Regions from separate parts of the Homo sapiens genome. Here region 2 is linked to region 1. Evidence: promoter capture Hi-C in human tissues and cell types (Jung and others, 2019). All regions are on one chromosome and are shown on one strand. Each heading gives the region's core, a stretch centred on a gene start or on the middle of the fragment in contact. The rest is flanking DNA. Distances are from core to core; before and after follow the strand shown.

The links. Contacts are between HindIII fragments. The study calls those that stand out against the background at their distance.
Region 2: the fragment with the promoter of CA11 here is called in contact with the fragment with the promoter of FKRP in region 1 in 1 of the 25 tissues and cell types used here (IMR-90 fibroblasts).

What each region holds. Positions count from the first base shown.
Region 1 is chr19:46,743,042-46,747,434 of GRCh38, forward strand. FKRP (fukutin related protein) reads left to right here and starts at 3,016. Exons shown (of 4, transcript NM_024301.5): 1 at 3,016-3,049. STRN4 (striatin 4) reads right to left here and starts at 3,409. Exons shown (of 18, transcript NM_013403.3): 1 at 3,108-3,409. The coding sequence starts at 3,389. RefSeq lists silencers at 2,955-3,184, 3,395-3,444, 3,455-3,604, 3,645-3,744, 3,785-3,834. The HindIII fragment of the contact is 7,098 bases long and covers 875-4,393 here.
Region 2 is chr19:48,644,346-48,648,738 of GRCh38, forward strand. CA11 (carbonic anhydrase 11) reads right to left here and starts at 1,842. Exons shown (of 9, transcript NM_001217.5): 1 at 1,221-1,842; 2 at 1,058-1,132; 3 at 82-224. The coding sequence starts at 1,287. It also overlaps the pseudogene SEC1P. RefSeq lists enhancers at 1-471, 472-1,172, 1,173-1,873 and silencers at 1,831-2,020, 2,051-2,460. The HindIII fragment of the contact is 19,792 bases long and covers 1-4,393 here.

The DNA.
Region 1 (4,393 bases), core at 1,766-4,265:
CGCTATGCAGCTATCAAAAAGAAAGAGTTCTCTGTGCTGATATGAAAGGAAAACCAAAACAGATTATTATGTCACAAAATGATACATACAGCAGTAGTTCATCTATTACATAAGCACAATAACTCTTCTCTCTCAGGAGAGAAGAGCAGGAAAGGGACGAAGAGAAGGAACTTTCCTTTTTCACTTACATATATATGTGTATACACACACTCACACACACACACACACCCCTCTGAGATGTCTGAATTTTTACTAACTTAACAGAATAAAAGAAAACAAAAGTACAAAGTGACAGTGCTGGTACCATGCCAGACACAAGTTCCTCTCAAACTCCAAGAAGGGTCAGTAAGTGAGGGGATAAACATCTTTTCTCTCATCAGCCTCCAGGATGAGAAGATGGTGTGGTGGGTGCTGTGCGGTGCACTGGTGCAAAGTCCCAGAGGCCAAGATTCAGTCCAAGCTCTGCTATGACTGCTTGGGTGACCCTGGGGAGGCCACTATGCTTGCCTGAACCAATTTTCTCAACTGTACTGGGTAGCAGAGAGGTACAGAACATGGGCTTAAAAGTCTACCGACGGTCGGGCATGGTGGCTTATGCCTGTAATCCCAGCACTTTGGGAGGCCGAGGCAGGTGGATCTCTTGAGGCCAGGAGTTCGAAACCAGCCTGACCAACGTGGCAAAACCCCATCTCTACTAAAAATACAAAAATCAGCCAGGCGTGGTGGTGGTGCACACCTGTAATCCCAGCTACTTGCGAGGCTGAGGCAGGAGAATCGCTTGAACCTGGGAGGCAGTGGTTGCAATGAGCCAAGATCATGCCACTGCACTCCACCCTGGGTGACAGAGTGAGACTCTGTCTCAAAAAAATAAAAATAAAAATAAATAAATAAATAAATAAATAAACAAAAGGTCCACCACAGACCAGCCCTTCTGCTCATCTGCTGGGATCCTAGATAAATCACCCTCTCAAAACCTCCATTTCCTCTCCTGATTTTTTTTAAAGGTAGGGGGAATATCCTTTATCCTCCCAGAATGCTGCAAGAATTAAATGACAGCTCGTATCTACAGTACTTGATACAGCGCCCCAGACATGGTATGTGCTCACTAAATTGCAGCTGGTACCGTTATTGCTGAGTGAGGTAATGACACTGCCTCTGCCTACATCACAGGGCATTGTGAAGATCTGATGAGATGTATGCTGGGAAAGAGCTTCGGAAGTAGAGAGTGGGACAGAAGTGAGAGCAGTTACATAAGGATTCTGCTCCCATCCCAGCCCCAAGCCTCAGCCACCACAAGTGAGGGCAGGGGGAGAGTTACTGGAGGGTCTTTACTCATCCTATGAACAAAATGCTTTTTTTTGAGACAGGATCTCACTCTTTTGCCCAGGCTGGAGTGCAGTGGTGCAATCATGGCTCACCGCAGCCTCAACCTCCGGGGTTTAAGCAATCCTCCCACCTCAGCCTCCTGAGTAGCTGGGACTACAGGCGCATGTCACCACACCCGGCTAATTTTTGTACTTTTTTGTAGAGATGAGGTCTTGCTATGTTGGCCAGGCTGGCCTCGAACTCCTGGGCTCAAGGGATTCTCCCACCTCAACCTCCCCAAGTGTTGGGATTACAGGCGTGAGCCACCGCACCCCATCCCTACCGACACAATTCTCATCAGCTATTTATTTGGGTACCAGCTTCCTACTAGATAGCAAACGGCAAATCGGAAGGGGAAAGGTGGGCTGCTACAAGCAGGTAATGACAATTTCTGCTAATAATAACCCAGTCCAAGAATCTTCAGACTTCCAGCGGGCCATTCCTGATCCCTTCAAATCCGGACATCTCCATGGTCCTCCAGTCACTGCCAATGGACCTGACGCTCCACGAGGTCACAAACCCTAGCCCAACTCCTCAGACTCTTCCATTCAACATCCCTGTCCCAAGCTACCCCAAAAACCACGGGGTCTTTTCCCAAGACTTCCACAAACATATCCCCTTCCCCCCAACCCCAGTCTACCCCCGTTCCGAGATGCCTCCTCATGTTGCCTTCGGGCTCTACAAAATTCTCCCCCCTAAAGCATCACCCCAGGGTAACCCCTAACTCGTCCTCATTGGCACCATCCCAGGACCCTCACCTCCATACTGGACATGCCCAACACCCCACACTCCAGTTCAGGGCTCTCTACCTACATCCTACAACACACGTGCCATCTCAGTGCCATCGCGCCCACTCCTGCACACCCCCAAAGTGGAACTTCCACTCTTAAGCTCTCCCATCCAGGCTCCTAGGGTACATTCCCTGCTCTGTCCACACTTCCACTCCAAAGAACCCTTCCCTGCACTGTGCAGCCACACATGCCCGGGATCCCCAAAGTTTCTCCTCAGAGGGGAAGGCACACACCTTCATCCTGGACCCCTTGAAACCCTCCTCCCACCCCTCGGGTCCTTACACAGCCCTCCTTCCGTGCCCACCGTCCAGTCGCCCCGAAACACACCGATCCCAGGTTCCCGACTTCCTCTCCCTAAATCCTCCCGGTTCCCCATCTGGACCCGCTCTTTCCCAGCGGGTCCCAAGTTCCCCCCTTGGACGCTCCCACCTCCAACCTGCACCTGGCTAGGGCCATGGTCGGGGTCGGGGTCGGGAGTCCCTCGGCGCCCGGCAAGCTTCTGCTTACTCCCACAGGAGACCACTCAGGTCTCCCAGACCCCTCCAGCTCCTCTCCACACCCTTTCCCGAGTTCTCTTAGCCTCCCCTCCAGGGCTCGAGTCGCCTCTCTCAGGAGCCCCGCGGCCAGCGTGCTCAGTCCCAGTCCCAGTCCCACTCCCAGCTGGTTGTGGTCCCTCCGCCCCTTTCTCTCGGCCGGTCCCGGTGATCCCTCCCACCCCCGGTCCCTCCACTCCCACCTCGGGCCGTCCCGGTCCCGTCCCACCCCGGAGTGCCCTCAGGACACCCCTCGGACGGCCCCTCACTCGCCCTCCGGGACCGTCGCGGTCCCCTCCCGCCCCCCCGCCGGCCGTCCCGGCGGCCATTGCTCCAAGATGGCGGCGGCGGCGGCAGCGGGTGAGGCCGGGCCGGGCCGGGCCGGGTTGGGGGTCGGGGGTCCCGGGACAGCGCTCACCTGTAACTCGGCGCGCTCGGCCTCCCAGCGGGCTTTCTCGGCTTCGAAGCGCGCCCACTCGTGCTGGATAAAGTGCAGGATCCCCGGCAGGCTCAGGGGCTCCGGGCCCGCCGTGGGCCCGGGGCTGCCTCCGCCGCCGCCTCCCTTACCTGCCGGGCCCGGCCCGGGGGCAGGGGCGGAGACCGGGGCCGCCCCAGTGGGGCCAGGGCCCGCGCCTGAGCCGAGCGGACGGCAGGAGGAGGCGGCGGCGGCGACCGCGGCGGCCGCTCGCTCCTCCATCATGGAGGCCCCGGGGCCGGCCTGCGCGCCCGCTGTGCCTCGCGCGCCTGCGCGGCCGCGCCAACACCCCCCCCCCTCCCCCGCCGCAACCACCGCGCGCGCGCCCGGCGGGGGACAGTAGGAAGGGGGGCCGGCGGCGAGCGCGAGCCTCGCCCACCCGGGTCTACACCGAAGGGTAGCGTGCCCGCGCGGGGGCCGGCGGGTGGGAGATCGCGCCCCGAGGAGGGCGAGGGAGACCCAGGCCCCGCGCGACGGTCCCCCTCGCTGGAGTGAGACTGAGGAAGGGGCCGCTTTCTGCCCCCCTCCTCCCACTTCGCCCCAGAGAAAGAGCCTTACCCCTTCCACACCCAAACACCACTCTCCTGGACAATTACTTTTACTCTGAGAGAAAGGGCGACCAGCAGTGGCCCCATCCTCTCTGATTGCCGGCCAGGTTGGTTGTCATGGTAACCCTTCCCCAGCGGTGGGGGCGAGGTGGTGGGGAGCAGCCTTCCCCTCGCTTCCACCTTTGTGGTTATGGAGCCCCAAACCTCTTAGGACTCTGCACCAGGAGAAGGTTGCTAAGGTAACCTAAGTGTCCGTGGTGGTCCTTCTGCTCCTATCCTCATTGATTACTATGGCAACCTCCCCCCCACCTAGCATTCAGGTAGAAAGGACCCCAGCCCCAAGGACACTGATCTCTAAGAGAAGCACCTCTTCCCCAGCCCCTCCCCCATAGCCACCTAGTTGGCATTACCATGGTAACCGTCTTCCCCTTCCCATCGTGGGAGGCCCATGCACCAAACTAACCAGGTGTTTTTATTTAGAGGAGATGCTCTGCTGAGGGGCAGTTGCTATGGTTACAGGGCCTGGACCTTCCTCCGGAAGGTGAGAAACAGGCAAGTTCAAGGCCTGGTTACTATGATAATAGAGCAGCCCCCTTCGAGTGACCCTAGGAACCAAGCCCAACAAAGGAGGGGATTTTTTTTTTTTTTTTTTTTTTTGAGACAGAGTGTAACTCTTGTTGC
Region 2 (4,393 bases), core at 592-3,091, 1.9 Mb after region 1:
CTACCTCAGCACCCCATTCCCCAGCCTCTATTCATGCCCATCCCCAGTGGGTTCAATAGCTCCTCCCTCCAAGCCCCTTACCTTCTCTCCTCCAGTGCTGAGCCTTAATGGGGGCAGAAAGGGGTCATAAAGAACCCTCTTCAGCTCCACATCCACGGGGCTCTGCCGCTTCCCCACAGCACACAGACTCCACGCTGCATTCACCAGGCCCCAGAAAGGAGGCCCTGGGGGTGGGGTCGGAGTAGGAGGACAAGGAGTCAGAAATAGAGACTGGATCCCAGGGCTGGTATCTGCTGAGTGGGCTGTGGTCTGGACTCCCAGATCCCAGGGGAGGAGGGGCTAGGGACCTAGACTCCTGGGTCTGAGGGAGGACTGGGCTCAGATCCAGAATTCTGGGTCCTAGAAGAATCTTGGAATAGTTTCCAAGTTTAGCAGAGACGGGTTTCACCAAGTTGGCCAGGCTGGTCTTGAACTCCTGACCACAGGTAATCCACCCACCTCGGCCTCCTAAAGTGCTGGGATTTCAAGCGTGAGCCACCGCGCCCAGCCGATCAAACCCATCTTAAGCCACTGTAGATGGAACTACAACTCCCAGCAGGCCCCAGTGCTACCAGCCTACCCCTCTGCTGCCTACCTGCCCCAGAGCCCCGTGGGAGTTGTAGTTCTTTTTTTTAATCGCTCTTATCCCACAGCTGGATTATTATTAATGTGTTGGGGAGAGGAGCTGCAAGAGAAGGCTGGACAAGGTGGGGGACGGGGCCACCCAGCCTCTGGTTCCTAGCAGGAGCCAGGACCTTCCTCTCCCGGCAAACACACACATAATCTCCACCCCCACACTTTCCTTCCACTCACTCCCACTCACTACTTGAAATGCGCATGTATAATGTCCCATGGTGAGCCCCTGGGGTTCAGAAGCTGGCCCGACTCCTGAGGGACAGAGGAGGGGGCTGGGACTCCTGGTCCTGGGGGGGAGGAGGGAGCTGGGAACCCAGGTTCCTGAGTCTGAAGAAGGAGGCGCCGGGAGGGCCGGACTCCTGGGTCCCCGCCTTGGCGGCACCTGGCACGAAGTTTCCCTGGAGATTATCCTTGTAGCTCCACCAGTCCTCGGGGTCAGGTGCTGGTCCGATGTGAGCTGGGAAGAGAGCAGCCTGAATCCCTCTCCTTGGCATCCCCACCTCCACCCTCCCTCGGGGGCTCCTCCCGGGAACCCCAGGTCTTACCTGCTGCCCCCAGTGCAGCCCAGAGTACCAGCGCTCGAGGGGCGCTCAGACGAGCTGCAGCCCCCATCCCCAGGAGGCCTCCGAGGGACCCCTGCCCAACGCCCTGCCCCCCTCTCTCAGCTCCTCTGTCCCCTCCTTCTGGGACCCTGTCCCTCCAGGACTTCCAGCTTTCCTCTCCTCCCCACAGGGAGTCCCAGTTCCCCAAATGCCAAAGCAGCCAGGGACTGAGATCCGCCCTTCAAACCCACTCTTCTTCTCTCTCCCGTCTCTCTGTGTCTTTCCTCTTTCCTCTGCTCTTTTCCCGGAACCCTCCAGTCTCCCTCTAGCTCCTGATCTTCCTACTCCTCTCAGCCTTCTGCTGCCCCCAGGGCTACCTCTTGGTTCCTAACCCACACCTCCTCTCCGTTCTCTTTTCATTAAGCTCTCCCAAGCCACCTAACTCCAGGTCTCCATCCCGCATCTCCTCCTCCTCCTCCCTCTCTCCTTTCCAGCTCCTGCCTCTTCTCCCCTCTCTCCTTCTTCACCTCCTCCCGCCCTCCCTCAGTGTCGGCCTCCAGCTTCGTGCTCTCCCCACCTCCTCCTCTCCTGCCTCTTCTCCCTGTTTCAGTCTCTCTTCTCTCTTGTCCCTTCCTCCCTCCTCCCCCTCCCTCTCTCCTCTCCCGTGGTGTTATTTAATTTTGTTGTTGGGCTGGGGGAGCAGGTGATCTCATAGCGGCAAACACTCCTCGGGTTGGCTTGGGGTGGGATGTGCGAAAGGGCAGGATTCGGAAGGAGGTAGGGGGCTGGTCCTCGGCTCCCAGCCGCGCTGGGGCCACGCGGGCGGGGGTGGCCGGGACACCTGGGGCCGGGAGCAGGCTGTTTCCATCCTCCGCAGCAAGGGGAAGGGGGGGCGCTTAAGGTGGAGCTGGGAGTGGCTTCGGAAGTCTCCATGCTGGGGGCCGCCGGCCTTGGCGGATGCAGGGTCCCCCTGCTCGCTGGGACCCAGGTTGGAGCCGCCCCAGCGCCCGCAGCCCCCCTTCCCCGCCCCAGGGCTCCACTGGGTCTCTGCCTGGGGCTGCCTTAACGGGGCCGGGGGATCCCCTAGGAGCCTGAAGTGCAGTGAGGGCTGCTCGCCTGGAGGGGGAGGCAGAGACCTGGCGAGGGAGAGAGGGGCGGGGAGGAGGAGCCGGGAGGGCAGAGGCGGAGAGCGGGAGGTGAGGACCCACATCTGCGTAGGCTGGGGAGGGGAAGGGAGCCTGAGATGGATACGGAGAGGAAGGGCGGAGGGACAGAAGGTTAGAGAGGCAAGAACAAACCGCCAGGCAGGAGTGAGGAGGAGGGGGAGGAGGTGAAGGAGGAGGGGGAGGAGGGAGAGGAGGGGGAGGGAGAGGAGGGGGAGGAGGGAGAGGAGGAGGGGGAGGGAGAGAGGAAGGAATGAATGAGAGAGATACAGATAGAGGCAGAAAAGGAGATACAGAGACGCAGCGAGACAGACATGGAGACATAGAGACACACACTTAGAGATAGACAGAAACTCAGAGACCAAGCAGCAGATGGGGTGGGGAGAGACAAAAAGAGAGAAAGAGCGATCCAAAGACAGAGAGAGACACCACATTTTTGTATTTGGGGAGAAGAGATGGGGTCATGCTATGTTGCTCAGGCTAGTCTCAAACTCCTGTCCTCAAGGGATCCTCCCACCTTGGCCTCCCAAAGCATTGAGATTACAGGCATGAACAACCATACCCAGCCTCAGAGAGACCACATATTACTGTTGTTGTTGTTATTTATTATTTTTCACCCCGTCTAATGGTAGTGAAACTGCTCATTGTCTTCTTTTATTTTCTTTTTTGAGACAAGCCTTGCAATGTCACCCAGGCTGGAGAGCAGTGGTGCGATCATGGCTTGATCCAGCCTCGACCTCCTGGGCTTAAACACTCCTTCCACCTCAGCCTCCCAAATAGTTGGGACTACAGGCACATGCCACCATGCCAGGCTAATTTTTAAAAATTATTTTTTGTAGAGATGTAGTCTTGCTATGATGCCCAGGCTGGTCCGGAACCCCTGGGCTCAAGGGATCCTCCTGCCTTGGCCTCCCAAAGTGCTGGGATTACAGGTGTGAGCCACCTTGTCCAGCCTGACACCAAACATTAACGAGACAGAGAGACATAGAAAGAGACACACATACATCAGTACAGGTGGAGAGAGACACAGAGAGGGAGAGACATAGAAACACACACACAGACTGAGCATGGTGGCTCACACCTGTAATCCCAGAACTCTGGGAGGTCAAGGTGGATGGATCACTTGAGGCCAGGAGACTGAGACCAGCCCGGCCAACATGGCCAAATGCCATCTCTACTAAATACATAAAAACTTAGCCAGGCATGGTGGCTCACGCCTGTAATCCCAGCACTTAGGGTGGTCGAGGTGGGTGGATCACCTGAGGTCAGGAGTTCAAGACCAGCCTGACCAAAATGGTGCAACCCCGTTTCTACTAAAAAATACAAAAACTAGCTGAGCGTGGTGGCACACACCTATAATCCCGGCTACTCAGGAGGCTGAGACAGGAGAATCGCTTGAACCGGGTAGGTGGAGGCTACAGTGAGCCGAGATCCCAACAGTGCACTCCAGCCTGGGCAACAGAGTGAGACTCCATCTCAAAAAAAAAAAAAAAAAGAAAGAAAGAAAGAAACACACACACAGAGCTAGAGACAGAGACCTGGGAACAGGCACACACACATCTATAAATAGAGACACTCGTGCAGAGAAAGAGACATCAACAGAGAGGAACAGATGGACAGAGATAGAGAGACCCAGATAGAGGGAGAGAGGACCAGAAGCAGACCAACTGACATGATGGGAGAGACTACAAAGGAATCAGAAAGACAGAGGTATTCAGAGATAGCAAATTGGGATGGACATTCAAAGACCTAGAGATGGAGAGAGACACCCAGAAAGAAACCCAGAGAGTCAGGGGTGGAGAGAGACACGAAGAAAAAACACAAGAAGGAAAGGTACATACTAATAATTTATTGCTGGCGGGGCTTGGTGGTTCATGCCTGTAATCCCAGCACTTTGGGAGGCTGAGGAGGGAGGATCACTTGAGATCAAGAGTTTGAGACCAGCCTGGGCAACATAGTAAGACCTCGTCTCTATTTTTTATGAAAAAGAAAAAAACAGGCCGGGCACAGTGG